3 separate regions of the Homo sapiens genome follow, and all the other regions are linked to region 2. Evidence: promoter capture Hi-C in 16 types of primary human blood cells and fetal thymus (Javierre and others, 2016). All regions are on one chromosome and are shown on one strand. Each heading gives the region's core, a stretch centred on a gene start or on the middle of the fragment in contact. The rest is flanking DNA. Distances are from core to core; before and after follow the strand shown. Region 1 has its middle 63 kb from the start of CCDC34. Region 2 holds the start of LGR4 (leucine rich repeat containing G protein-coupled receptor 4). Region 3 overlaps CCDC34 (coiled-coil domain containing 34).

What was found. The method cuts DNA at HindIII sites, captures the fragments that hold promoters and counts their contacts. A CHiCAGO score of 5 or more calls a contact.
Region 1: a contact is called between a fragment that was not itself captured here and the fragment with the promoter of LGR4 in region 2, in 1 of 17 cell types (erythroblasts). The highest score is 6.0, in erythroblasts.
Region 3: a fragment that was not itself captured here is called in contact with the fragment with the promoter of LGR4 in region 2 in 1 of 17 cell types (erythroblasts); the score reaches 6.3 in erythroblasts.

What each region holds. Positions count from the first base shown.
Region 1 is chr11:27,298,506-27,301,205 of GRCh38, reverse strand. No RefSeq gene overlaps it. Among named protein-coding and RNA genes, the nearest start is that of CCDC34, 63 kb to the left of the region's middle. The HindIII fragment of the contact is 1,090 bases long and covers 760-1,849 here.
Region 2 is chr11:27,471,421-27,474,139 of GRCh38, reverse strand. It overlaps LGR4 (leucine rich repeat containing G protein-coupled receptor 4), which reads left to right and starts at 1,350. Exons shown (of 18, transcript NM_018490.5): 1 at 1,350-2,022. The coding sequence starts at 1,838. It overlaps LGR4-AS1 (LGR4 antisense RNA 1), which reads right to left and starts at 2,409. Exons shown (of 4, transcript NR_131170.1): 1 at 2,308-2,409; 2 at 1,183-1,362; 3 at 944-972. RefSeq lists silencers at 1,577-1,626, 1,757-1,926, 2,177-2,236. The HindIII fragment of the contact is 11,499 bases long and covers 1-2,719 here.
Region 3 is chr11:27,343,036-27,345,941 of GRCh38, reverse strand. The region is part of intron 3 of CCDC34 (coiled-coil domain containing 34); the gene reads left to right. Among named protein-coding and RNA genes, the nearest start is that of CCDC34, 19 kb to the left of the region's middle. The HindIII fragment of the contact is 1,139 bases long and covers 721-1,859 here.

The DNA of each region.
Region 1 (2,700 bases), core at 55-2,554, 170 kb after region 2:
AAAGAAACTAACACTATACACACCCACATGGATAAACCTCTGGAGCATAATATTGAGAAAAAGAAATGAGTCAGAGTATAATCAGTATGATTCAATTTACATAAAATTTAAAACTAAGCAAAACTAAATGATACACTGCTTAAGTCTACATACACAGGTAGTAAAACTATAAAGAATGGCTAGTTTACACTTGGGTGAGAGGGAGAGAGATACAACAAGGAGGTGCACAAAGTGTGTTTGAAGGTATCAGTAGCGCTCTATTAACCTGAGTGATGGTTATACGGGTGCTTGTATTTTCTTTTTTATTTAATTTAATTTATTTTTTTGAGACGGAGTCTTGCTCTGTCGCCCAGGCTGGATTGCAGTGGTGCGATCTCCGCTCACTGCAAGCTCCGCCTCCCGGGTTCACGCCATTCTCCTGCCTCAGCCTCCCGAGTAGCTGGAACTGCAGGAGCCCGCCATGACGCCCGGCTAATTTTTTGTATTTTTTAGTAGAGACGGGGTTTCACCGTGTTAGCCAGGATGGTCTCGATCTCCTGACCTCGTTATCTGCCTGCCTCGGCCTCCCAAAGTGCTGGGATTACAGGTGTGAGCCACTGCCCCCGGCCTGTATTTTCATTATTATTTAATTTAAACAAATATGTTTATATTCTTTTCTATGCATAACATTTCACAATTCAAAATAATTAAGATAACGACAAGCAAGAGAGAAGTTATTTGATGGAGTAAGATCCTTAAGGCAGTCCACTGGGATAAGCTTCAGAACACAAGCAAGTGGACATTTCTTGAACAGAAAGAAGGGCAACTTCTCTTCTGAGAGCAGAGCAAGTAGATCCAAGGATGGGAACCAGATGAAGTAATGCTTTCAGGTCTCTGTATGGAGTAGGAAACTATGGCGAGAAGCAAGTTGGGGGAATTCAAGTCTGACGGACTGCCTTTTTCAAGAAGGTGGCGTGGTCTGCTGAGAATGAAGGGATAGGTTTGGATAGGAGGCACGAGGTGGGTAGTGGGGGCTTTAAAGAGTATTTCACCACGCCTGTAATTCCAGCACTTTGGGAGGCCAAGGCGGGGGGATCACGAGGTCAGGAGATCGAGACCATCCTGGCTAACACGGTGAAACCCCGTCGCTACTAAAAATACAAAAAAAAATTAGCCGGTTGTGGTGGCGGGCGCCTGTAGTCCCAGCTACTGGGGAGGCTGAGGCAGGAGGATAGCGTGAACCCGGGAGACAGAGCTTGCAGTGAGCGGAGATCAGGCCACTGCACTCCAGCCTGGGCGACAGAGCAAGACTCCGTCCCAAAAAAAAAAGAGTATTTCACAAAGTGGATCAGGTAATGCCATGGATAATACTTGGAGGTGATTTTCATGGCTACATAGGTGTTTTTAAACTTTTAACAGTTATGAGATTATTTTAATGCTTTTTTTTTTTTTTTTTTTTTTTTTTTTTGAGATGGAGTCTCGCTCTGTCGCCCAGGCTGGAGTGCAGTGGCGCAATCTCGGCTCACTGCAAGCTCCGCCTCCTGGGTTCACACCATTCTCCTGCCTCAGCCTCCCAAGTAGCTGGGACTACAGGCGTCCGCCATCACGCCCGGCTAATTTTTTGTATTTTTAGTAGAGACGGGGTTTCACCATGGTCTCGATCTCCTGACCTCGTGATCCGCCCGCCTCGGCCTCCCAAAGTGCTGGGATTACAGGCGTGAGCCACCGCGCCCGGCCCCGCATTTTTTCATTTTAATAGTTTTTTGTTTAATGTGTATTCATGAAAAATGGCATGTCAAATCTCATATTTCATGGATATTACAGTACTTACAAAGCAAAAGTGATGTTAAAAGTTGAGTTAAAGAAAGCTTTTCAGTAAATATTAGCTCAGGTGCTACTTTAATATGGCAAAAATCTTGAAGGTAGAACTCAAACACCTAAAATTTGGGAAATTTTGATTTAAATAAGATAATCAATGATTGTGAAAAGAGGAGCACTATGGGTGAAAAGTCTAGTGAGCGGTGGTTAGGACCCAACTGCACCTAAAATCCCAGCTTTGTAGTGGTTTAGCCCTTAATTTTTAATTTAGAAGCCTCTGTGCCTTCATGACAGTGTTGCCAGTAACTGCTAAACAAAATTGGATGTGTCAGAATCAAAATAAAAAATTGAATTTGCAATCAAGATAAGCAAAATAAACTGGAGAATGAGAGGTATAGTTCGTTCTTGAACTCAGCACCTCCCGCTCCTGTTGTTGGATTTACTGCCATATGGGGAAAAATATATATAATCATGATAGTATCATAGCACAGTCATAAAGGTATGAACTCTGCTATGGAAACAAGCAGGAGTTGCCAACCAGGGGAGCTGGAAAAGACATTTTTGAGGTGACATTGTAGTAGGTGGGCAGAGTCTATGAAAAACTCAGGAAAGTTGTATGATAGAAGCTCAGACACATGCAAAGGCATGATGAGTAGGCAGTACATAAGAAGATCCAAAAAAAACCTTCCTAATTCAGAGGAACACTTAGGGGTCTGCCTTGATATTGAAATGTTCTTCTAGTCATTAGAATCTTGCATTTTTACTCACATTTTAAAATATCCCTTTTAAACTGTGACACCATTTCTGGGAGGTTTAAGGTAGGAAGCTGTTGTTATTGCTTAGGTTGGTTTGTCACCCAATCTAGACTGCAGGAGAGGATCACGGGGTAAAGAACAGAACTTT
Region 2 (2,719 bases), core at 101-2,600:
TTTTTTTTTTTTTTTTTTGAGACAGAGTTTTGCTCTTGTTGCCCAGGCTGGAATGCAATGGCGCGATCTCCAGCTCACCGCAACCTCCGCCTCCCGGGCTCAAGCAATTCGCCTGCCTCAGCCTCCCGAGTAGCTGGGATTACAGGCATCTGCCACCACACCCGGCTAATTTTGTATTTTTAGTAGAGACGGGGTTTCTTCATGTTGGTCAGGGTGGTCTAGAACTCCCAACCTCAGGTGATCCGCCCGCCGCAGCCTCCCAAAGTGTTGGGATTACAGGCGTGAGCCACCGCGCCCGGCCGAATCCTGCTTGTTTTAATGTATTCATTAAAAATGTCTCCATTATAGAGTAAAACGACTCAACGCCATGGCAGAGAGCAAGAAACGAAGTACCCTTAAAGCCGTAGTTGGTACAGGTAATGATTCCGTGGGGTCTATTAGGCCACAGGGACTCAAAATCCAGAAGAGGAGGGAATGCTGATAATTACCTAACACCAACGTTGCTGCTGGCTTCTCAGCCGTAGTCACCTCCCACTCAGATGTTTTGGAAATTGTCCAGTGTTCAGAAACATCACTTTCTCTGACCTTTTACAAAATTCCTGTGTTTCAGGATTTTAAAGTGCGTGAGAAAGGAGTCTAATTTGCAGTCACCAAAAACACCAAATACAGAGAGAGGACTGGGGAGAATGAATTGCTAAGACTTAGCTACCAAATGTGTATCAAGATAGGTGTAAAGATCCCAGGTGAAGTGAGGCACTGGAGAGGGTACACTTTTAACTTAGTGTATAGCTAAAACCCAAAGATGTGTGTCAGATCGAGGGAAACTTTTTTCCTCCTCTTCAAAATCTTTTTTCCGTTTGCAGAGCTCCAGACGTCCTCGCCCTTTGGAACAGCGGAGAGTCATTTAAAACTTAACTGAACGCTGGAGGGAAGTTCTACTTACCAGGTCATCCAATTTAGGAGATCCAATTTCTGCGGAGGGAACAAAAAGACGGGTGGGGGAGGGAAAAACTAGACCCCTTGTCCTACTATCCTTCTACCTTCAATCCACAACCTGCCAGACAAATCCAGCCAAGTCAAGATTTTGCCTTGAACCACCACCACCACCACCACCACCACCGCCGCCACCACCACCACCACCACCGCCGCCACCACCACAACCACCACCACCTTGTCACTCACGCCCGAGAAACACGCCCCTCTGGTCCTCCTCTTGGCCAATGGCGGCTCTCCTCTCTGCATAGTAATGAGCTCGAGACCTCCCCGGGCCAATGGCGCTCCGGGAGAAGGGATACTTTTGCATGTACCTAAGTGATTTGCATAAGCCAGCGGCCGGGGGTTTGGGAACCAGAGCGTGCAACCCTAGAAGGGAAAAGGACGGGAAGAGATTGAGCCGCGGCTGGGAGACAGCGAGCCAGAGTCTGGGTGTTTGTGCGAGAGCCACGGCGGGGGCTGGGGCGAGTGGCCGGCATGGCTGAAGGCTGCGCTCTGCAACCTTGAAGAGCCGCTGCATTGAGAGGCCAGGGACAGGGAGACCGGTGCGATGGCAGAGCGCGGCCCCCGCCGCTGCGCCGGGCCGGCCCGGCTGGCGTGAGCCGCCGGAGGAGCGGGGCTGCCTCTGCGCGTCCATGGAGCAGCGGGAAGGGCGAAACTCCGGAGCGCCGCGTCCCTGCGCCGCTGCGGCGGACTGCTGAAGGGGCCGAGCCCGCGCGGACCGCCGAGGAAGAGACCCCCGCTCCAGCCCGCAGGCCGGCTGCCCGGGGGCGGCGGGGGACATCGGAGGGCAGCGGAGCGAGCAGCGCCGCGGGAGAGGCCGGCGCGGGAGGCGGCCGCAGCAATGCCGGGCCCGCTAGGGCTGCTCTGCTTCCTCGCCCTGGGGCTGCTCGGCTCGGCCGGGCCCAGCGGCGCGGCGCCGCCTCTCTGCGCGGCGCCCTGCAGCTGCGACGGCGACCGTCGGGTGGACTGCTCCGGGAAGGGGCTGACGGCCGTGCCCGAGGGGCTCAGCGCCTTCACCCAAGCGCTGTGAGTGCGGGCGGCGGGGACGCGAGGGGGGGGGAGGAAACGGGGCCCAGCGGGGGGCGCCGCGGGGCGGAGCCAGGGGTCAGTCCCACCCCACCCCGCCCCGCCGCCGCCCGGGCCTGGGGAGGGGGTCCGCCGGTCACCTGCGTGCGGGCTGCCTGGCACCCACTCCTGTGCCACGGGCTTTCCGCACTTTGCTAGTCCGGGTTCGAGCCAGCAGTAGCTTTCGTTCCCAGACTTTTTGGGCACAAGCACCCTCCCACCCCACCGCGCACACCCCCAACTCACAAGTGCATCTGGGGCCAAGAAGGAGGAAGTAATCTAAAAACGCTTGCCCCTGGCAGCCTGTCCACGCGACCTTCCCTTCTCATGAGGGCCCTCGCTCAGCGGGCAGGAGTTCCGCTACTGGCGGGGCTGAGGGCGCCGAGAACTTGGCCTCAGTCTGCATACCGAGGCATGTCTCGTGGGGAAGCACCTGGAGCCTCCTGGGTTCCAGCATGTGGGGAGAAGAAACACCTGTACCTCAGTCAGGGCGAATCTCCTTCCAATTTGGCCCCATCCAGGTAGTGCGTCCCGGCACCTACCTCGGCCCAGTTCCACTCGGGACTACCCCACTAACGCCCAGGCTTCTGCAGCACGCAGGGGAGTCCGAGAAAACAAGGGAGAATTACAGGGTTCTGTTGGTGGACATGCTCTTACC
Region 3 (2,906 bases), core at 41-2,540, 130 kb after region 2:
CTGGAGAGGATGTGGAGAAATAGGAACACTTTTACACTGTTGGTGGGACTGTAAACTAGTTCAACCATTGTGGAAGTCAGTGTGGCAATTCCTCAGGGATCTAGAACCAGAAATACCATTTGACCCAGCCATCCCATTACTGGGTATATACCCAAAGGATTATAAATCATGCTGCTATAAAGACACATGCATGTGTATGTTTATTGCGGCACTATTCACAATAGCAAAGACTTGGAACCAACCCAAATGTCCAACAATGATAGACTGGATTAAGAAAATGTGGCACATATACACCATGGAATACTATGCAGCCATAAAAAATGATGAGTTCATGTCCTTTGTAGGGACATGGATGAAGCTGGAAACCATCATTCTCAGCAAACTGTCGCAAGGACAAAAAACCAAACATCGCATGTTCTCACTCATAGGTGGGAACTGAACAATGAGAACACATGGACACAGGAAGGGGAACATCACACACCGGGGCCTGTTGTGGGGTGGGTGGAGTGGTGAGGGATAGCATTAGGATATATACCTAATGCTAAATGAAGAGTTAATGGGTGCAGCACACCAACATGGCACATGTATACATATGTAACAAACCTGCACGTTGTGCACATGTACCCTAAAACTTAAAATATAATAATAATAAAATTAAAAAAAAATGTTTGCCCACCACAAGAGGGTAAAAATACTCTCCACTGTTTTCTTCCAGAAGCTTTATAGCTTTAGCTTTACCTGTATGTCTATTTGAGTTTAATTTTAATGTATAGTATGCATTAACGGTCAAGATTCATTTGTTTGCATGTGGATATCCAATTGTCCTAACAATATTGACAAGATAATCTTTTCCCTATTAAACTACCTTTGGCACCTTTGTTTAAAATCAATTGACCACATATTTATAGGTCTGTTTCTGGATTCTAGTCTATTCTATTGATTTATATCCTGTGCAGTACCACACTAACTTGTTAGTATAGTTTTATAGTTCTGAATTTTATTATTCTTGAAATCAGATAGTGTAAATCCTCCAGGTCTTCAATTCTTTTTCAAACTTGTTTTAGTTGCCCTGCATCTTTCCATATACAGTTTAGAATCATCTTATCAATTTCCCTAATAATGCCTGTCCTAATAGTGCTTGGCACTATTGGGATTCTGCTAAATATAAACACATAGATCATTTTGGAGAAAATTCCTATCTTAATAATATCAAATTTTAAATCTATAAACATGGTTTTTCTTTCCAGTTATTTATGTCTTCTTTAATTTCTCTTAGCAGTGTTTTTTAGTTTTCAATGTATAGCAGTATTTTGTTAAATATATTTCTCAGTATTTCATGTTTTTGCTGATGAGGGCAGTTATCTTGCCTTGTTCCTGATATATAATATATATTTTATATATTTACACGTATGTACAACACAGGTTTATAGCATATATGTAATGTACACATGTTTATAACATGTAACAATGCGTATAACACAAGTAACATGTTATAGCATATATGTAACACACATGTTTATAATATATAGCATACATGTTTGTAACATGCAGCATGCATGTGTTTATAACATGCAGCATGCATGTGTTTATAACATATACATATGTTTATAACATATATATGTTTTTTTCCCAGCCACACTCATATGGAACGTTTCTGATATCACCTTGTAATTTCCATGCCTGGTTTTGATGTCAGAATAATGCTGGACTCTTAAAATGAGCTTTGATATGTTTACTTTTTCTCTGTGTTCTAAAATCATTTTTTTAAGGTTTGATACTATTAAGATATGCCACAATAATATTTTATGTTATTAAAATATGGAGTATCTTTAACTGTAATGGAATCAACTAGTGAAGCTTTCAGTGACTGGAGTTTTTGTAGGAAAGTTTTTAATTTTGAATTGTTTTTATAAGTAGAGGATTATTCAGACACTACTTTTTCTCGAATTCATTTTGGGAAGTGGCATATTTTAAGGAATTTTGACATTTCATTTAAAATATTGAATTTATTGGCATAAAATTGGTTTTAACATTCTCCCATTTTGATTTCTGTATGATGTCTGTGTGATCTGTCACTCACCGTCTCTATGACCTTAGGCAAATTAGCCTCCATGTGCCTTAGTTTCCTCCTTTGTAAAATGGGATAATAATGGTATCTACCTCACATCATGATTATAAGAATTGAGAGTGTGTACAAATAAAGTATGTAGAATGGTAACAGGCATAGTTAGCACTCAATAAATGTCAGCTGCTATAATTAAAAACAATGTAAGAACTGGTTGATTTCTTATAGGTAAAGTTGTGGAGGACAGTCATGAGTCACATGGAGATTAAGCAAGATGTACTCCAAGGTCCTTTTCAATTTGTAGATCTTCTGACAGTTTGAAGTAGTTAAAATCCAGTATTGTTCCAATGGCTATTGAGTTCTCAGCATGAAAAGATTCTGTTTCACAGCTATTGGCTGCCCAGCAAGAAGGAAATACAGCAACTTTGATACAACTTGGGGAATTACTTGAGCTTTGATTTTTTTTTTTTTTTTTGAGACGGAGTCTTGCTCTGTCTCCCAGGCTGGAGTTCAATGGCACGATCTCGGCTAACTGCAACCTCCGCCTCCTGGGTTCAAGCAATTCTCCTGCCTCAGCCTCCCAAGTAGTTGGGATTACAGGCGTATGCCACCACGCCCAACTAATTTTTTGTATTTTTAGTAGAGACGGGGTTTCACCACGTTGGCCAGCCTGGTCTCGAACTCCTGACCTCAGGTGATCCACCTGCCTTGGCCCCGCAAAGTGCTGGGATTACAGGCATGAACGACCATGCCCATCCTGAGCTTTGATTTTTAAGACCTGTCTTTCCTGCACAGCCCTGGACATATCTTGTCTATAACTGATGTTTGTTGGTTGAGTCTT